Regions from separate parts of the Homo sapiens genome. Here region 2 is linked to region 1. The links are contacts of gene promoters, found by promoter capture Hi-C in blood cells and fetal thymus (Javierre and others, 2016). All regions are on one chromosome and are shown on one strand. The core of a region is centred on a gene start or on the middle of the fragment in contact, and the rest is flanking DNA. Distances in the headings are between cores, read along the strand shown.

Evidence for each region. The method cuts DNA at HindIII sites, captures the fragments that hold promoters and counts their contacts. A CHiCAGO score of 5 or more calls a contact.
Region 2: a contact is called between a fragment that was not itself captured here and the fragment with the promoter of CARD11 in region 1, in 1 of 17 cell types (total CD8 T cells). The highest score is 5.3, in total CD8 T cells.

What each region holds. Positions count from the first base shown.
Region 1 is chr7:3,042,535-3,045,234 of GRCh38, reverse strand. It overlaps CARD11 (caspase recruitment domain family member 11), which reads left to right and starts at 1,368. Exons shown (of 25, transcript NM_032415.7): 1 at 1,368-1,568. RefSeq lists an enhancer at 1,146-1,440 and a silencer at 1,306-1,655. The HindIII fragment of the contact is 15,618 bases long and covers 846-2,700 here.
Region 2 is chr7:3,117,592-3,120,291 of GRCh38, reverse strand. LOC105375130 (a long non-coding RNA gene) reads left to right here and starts at 2,258. Exons shown (of 2, transcript XR_007060191.1): 1 at 2,258-2,317. The HindIII fragment of the contact is 1,871 bases long and covers 515-2,385 here.

The sequences.
Region 1 (2,700 bases), core at 119-2,618:
ATTGTACAGTATACATTGTACCCAATAGGTGATTTTTCATCCCCTACCCCCTCCCATTCTTCCCCCTTCTGAGTCTCCAACGTCCATGATCCCACTCTGCCTGCCTTTGCCTACCCATAGCTTAGCTCTCGCTTTTAAATAAGAACATGTAGTATTTGGTTTTCCACTCCTGAGTTACTTCACTTAGGATAATGGCCTCCAGTTCCATCCAAGTTGCTGCAAAATACTTTATTTCGTTCTTTTTTATGGCTGAGTAGTATTGCATGGCGTGTGTGTGTGTATCACATTTTCTTTCATCCAGATTTTTGAGTCTGCAATCCATGTAAACCCTTGGGACCATCCCACCCATGACGATGGCCATTTGGGGTAAATTATTAAAATGATGACATCCAGCTGGGCGCAGAGGCTCATGCCTGTAATCCCAGCACTTTGGGAGGCTGAGGTGGGCATATCACTTGAGGTCAGGAGTTCGAGGCCAGCCTGGCCATCATGTTGAAACCCCATTTCTACTAAAAATACAAAAATTAGCCAAGTTTGGTGGTGCACGCCTGTGGTCCCAGCTACTCGGGAGGCTGAGGTGGGAGAATCGCTTGAACCCAGGAGGTGGAGCTTGCAGTGAGCTGAGATTGTGCCACTGCACTCCAGCCTGGGTGACAGAGCGAGACTCCATCTCAAAAAATAAAAATAAAGTAAAATGATGACATCCAAATCACAGTTTCTCTTACAAGTATACTTCACCGGAACATCGAGGGCACAAGCTGATGGTGGGTGTCTTGGACCCCAAAGCTGTCGGGGTGAGGAAGGCCTTTGAAGGGGTGCTGACCACCCGGCATGCCCAGGAAGCTTCCAGAACAGGGGCTGAGGGAGGAAAGAGGCTTGGGGTGTAGGAGGCTGCAGGATTTGATGTGGGGCACCCCGTTCCCCTCCCATTGCAGTGACAGGCTCTGGAATTTCTTCAGAAATTCAGCTAGATCTCGGGAGCCAGTGCCCTGGAGAACCTAGAAGGGAGAGAGCCCCTCCCAAGGCCCCACCTGGACTCTGCCGGGGGTCACGGCTGGGTGGGGACTGATGCCCAGACTGGTCCAGCCTCACCCCGACTGATGCAGGTGGGCTGGGCCCTGAGACTCGCCTTGGTCTCCCCATCTCCGGCTCCCTGATCTGTCCCCAAGCACCCCCACCCCCGGCCCTGTCCCCACTCCCACCCCCACCTCCTTGCCGCCCTCCTCCCGAAGCACCGACTCCGCCCCCTCCCTCTCTTCCTTATCTTTTTCTAACCTTTCGCATTTTTTAGTCTCATTTCCTGTCGGGTTTTGCATTTCCCTCCCCCGCCCCTCCCAGCCTATGACATACTTTCTCTCCTTTTTTCTCTCCTGCCTCCTCTGGCCTTCGGACTCCTGCCCGCGCCGCCCGCAGCCCCCTCCCGGCCCTGCAGCCCCTGGGCGGGCGGCGCCCCTCGGAGGACGGCTCCGGGCCCGGGGGGACGGAGGGCCTGGTCGCCTGGAGGAAGCCGGAGGCCTGCGTGGAGGAGGCGCCCCGCGCAGCTGGCTGGCGGAGCATGAGCGCCCCAGGTAGGCGCAGCGGGGATGGGGGAGCTGGCGGAGGGGGAGCACGAGGCGGGGAGTTGGGGGAAGAGAAGAGGGCACGGGGAGGAGATGGGGGGCATCAGTGAGATGACACGGTGGCGGGGGGGGCGTCGGGGGATGGGAGTGGCTCCCGCTGGTCCCGCGATGCTGGGGGTATCCTTCCCTCTCCATCTCTGTCCCCCTGCCCCCCTTCTCTCTCTCACTCTCCTCTCCCCTTTTTCCCTTCCAACCCTTTTTCTCCCTCACTTTCCACCTCGTGTGCCTCTCCTCCGTGTCTCTTTGAGCGTCTCTGAGTATCACCGCCCAGCAAAGCCCCCACCTCCTCCTACTGGACAGGAAAAAATCGGGGGTCAGGAGGCTGCAGCCCCTTGGTGCACCTGCCCCAGAGGGAGGAAGAGAAACTTTTCTGACACCTGAAAGGCCCGGAAGTTTGCAGACCACAGCCCAGCCTGACTCAGAGGCTCCTGGGAAGGTGGGGCCTGGCTCAGGGAGGAAGGGCAGCCGCACCAAAAGTGGGTGTGGAGCTGGGAGATGGGAGAGGACAGCCCCCCGCGGGGACTGTACTAGAAAGGGGGTGGCGGGGGCACAGGAGAGGGCCCAGGTTCCCGACTGAAACCCGGAGCAGGTCCTAGCGGCCTCAGGCCTGAAAGCCACCTCCCCCAGGAGGCCCCTCCAGGCCCGATGGGGCCACCAGGCCTTCTGCTGAGCCCCCTCTGCAGATAGGGGCAGAGAGGGTGTTTCTGTCCCTCGGGGGCTCTGAGCACCGCTGGAGGCTGTCACGGGGACCCAGGTTCATGGACAGTGGTCTCAGCTGTGAGCTTCGGGGCTGCCCACACAAACTTGGTCTTGGACCAAACTGACCTCTCTCTGCCTGGCCTGCTCTCAAAGCCTTTGATTTGTAGTTCAAAACATTTTCTCCTAATATTTATGACTCGTCTTGAAGGTATAAGGTTACCAACCTACCAGAAAGGGGAGAAAAATAGTCGATCGTTCATTCCACATTTATTGAGCGCTCAGCCTGTGCATAATGCGTGCCGGAAATCCCGGGAGCCGGGAATTGATATGAGGACAGGAATTTCTCCGTAAGTGTCCACTTCTGCGCTTTCGCGGAAACTCC
Region 2 (2,700 bases), core at 201-2,700, 75 kb before region 1:
GACGATGATAATGATGATCATGATGGTGAGGATGATGATGAACATGATGATGAAGAGGGAATGGTGATGAAGATGATGGTGATGATGGTGGTGATCATGACGGTGAAGATGATGATGAAGAAGATGGTGAGGATGATGATAATGATGGGGATCATGATGGTGAGGATGATGGAGGCATATGGACATAAACATTTTCAGTAGAATAAGACTCTTGATTAACCAGATTTCACCAGGATGACAATAATGGCCAGTAATTAGCTCACACTTATGGAGTGCTCCCTGTGTGTCTAGTGCTTTGCAGTGTTATCTTCCTAAATCTTTGTGAGTCTCCCAACCTTCATTCAGGCACATTCTTTGGAGCTAACTCCACCTCTGGCTCTAGAGAAGGGGTAGATAGCTCAGGCCTAATCTGACCAATGTAGTCTCATCCCCTAGACTGTGATGGATTCAGAGATGACCACATGAGCTTTGCAAAATAGACCAATGAGCCCTGAGGAGGGTTTTAATGGAAGCTTCTAGGAAAGGAGGTTTTTTTTAGCTTCTGTGTGGGTTTCCAGAAGTGACACATGCTTGCCTTCTCACTTCAGTTCTGGTTGACAACCACATTATAATTTGATGTCAGCCAGGCACGGTGGCTCACGGTTGTAATCCCAGCACTTGGGGAGGCCAAGGCGGGCAGATCATGAGGTCAGGAGTCTCAGACCCGCCTGGCCAATACAGTAAAACCCTGTCTGTACTAAAAAAAACAAAAATTAGCTGGGCGTGGTGGCGGGCGCCTGTAATCCAAGCTACTCGGGAGGTTGAGGCAGGAGAATTGCTTGAACCCAGGAGGTGGAGGTTGCAGTGAGCTGAGATCACGCCACTGCACTCCAGCCTGGGTGACAGAGCAAGACTCTGTCTCAAATAATAATAATAATTTGATGTGATGATGAAGCCACTACTGCCTAGAAATGGAAATATACAAGGTGCTGTCTCCGTTTGCGTCAGTGTTTATGTTCTTTGCATCCGCATGCACCCCAGCTGGTTCAAGTTGCAGTATTATCAGCCTCATTTTACAGAGGGGAAAACTGAGGTTCAGGGAGGTCATGGGTACATAACTAATAAGGGGCAAGCGTGAGATTTGCACCCAGTAAGTTGGATGTTAAACCTTAGAACTTAATCACTCAGTTGTACCAAAATAGTGTGCTTACTGGTGGAGGTTTCAAGTCCTCAACTGCAAAATAACTCTGGCTTTTAAGCCTTTCTTCTGGAGTTCTGTCTTCCAGAGTCACTAACATCTTCTATCCCAAGCTGGGCTCCACCCCAGCATCCATACAGACAGCAATGGGACTTTTAGTCTTACCTCTGTATTTCCAAAAGTCTAATGGAAGCCCCTGTGTTTTTACAGAGCTTGATGCCACTCAGCCTAATTAGAATACAGAGCCTAATTAGATTCCTTCAACTGGAATCAGATCCACTTCATGGAAAACACTGCTTAGCTCTGGCTAGTGGAAGAGCCGATTGCCTGATGTACATATTTGATTAATAAGAATAATTTTGGTTGGGTGCAGTAGCCCATGCCTGTAATACCATCACTTTGGGGGTGCTGAGGCAGGTGGATCGCTTGAGCCCAGGAATTTGAGACCAGCCTTGGCAACATAGCAAGACCCTATCTCTACCAAAAAAAAAAAAAAATTAATTAGCTAGGCATGGTGGTGTATATACCTGTGGTCTCACCTACTCAGGAGGCTGAGACAGGAGGATTGCTTGAGCCCAGGAGGTCAAGGCTACAGTGAACCATGATTGCACCACTGTACTCCAGCCTGGGCAATGGAGCAATACCCTGTCTCAAAAATAATAATAATATTCTTCAAAACAAGCATTATTTCTTAATAAATGCAACTTAGTAAACAAAATCTTTGGAAGAACCAGATTCATGAGAACACAATGAAGGGGGCATTTGCCTCACCCCTCCTGAGTGTGGATGTCACCCCTAGCATCCCTCAGTTCTCAGATCCAGGCTTATTTGACGACTCCCCAAGGTCTGGAGATATCCCTCCATGCCAGGTCACCCAAGAACAAGAGCTGAGCAGAAAACAGCTCCTGTTCAGCACAAGATGAATGTTGGTGGACCCCTTCCCCAAAATGAAAAAGGGAGAAGTTAATAGGCTGATAAAACCAAAATCTTGCTCAGAGATTGTTTAGAAACCACTGGGTGGGAGGCGATGGTGGCTGAACGCAGAATGGAAGCTCTGCAGGGTTTCTGTCGGAGGCTGGTGGAGAAAGCTGCTGGCAGCCAGCCCGTGTGCAAGGGGAGCAGAGAGAAGGCTCATTCCAGGTAAATTCCAGTGCTGTCTCCAAAAGGGACAAATGCAGGAGGGTGGGAGAGAAGGTGGCAGAGAAGCTTCATGAAAGGAGACAGGCTGTTCTAACAGGGCTCTGCGCTCGGAGGAGAGAAGTGCTAGGAAGCCTCTCCTCTCTCAATCTCTCTTTTAACCTCTCCCTTTCCCTTCCTCCCTGCTTTCCTCTCTCTCCCTCCCTCTTTCTCTCTCCTCTCCCCCTCCGTCTTTCTGCACCGCCCCTTTCTTCCCTCTCTTCTCCCCCTCCTTCTTCCCTCTCTTCTCCCCCTCCTTCTTCCCTCTCCCTCTCTCTCTCTCCCTCCCTCTTTATCTCTCAACATCCCCCTCTCTTTATCTCTCAACATCCCCCTCTCTCCCTCCC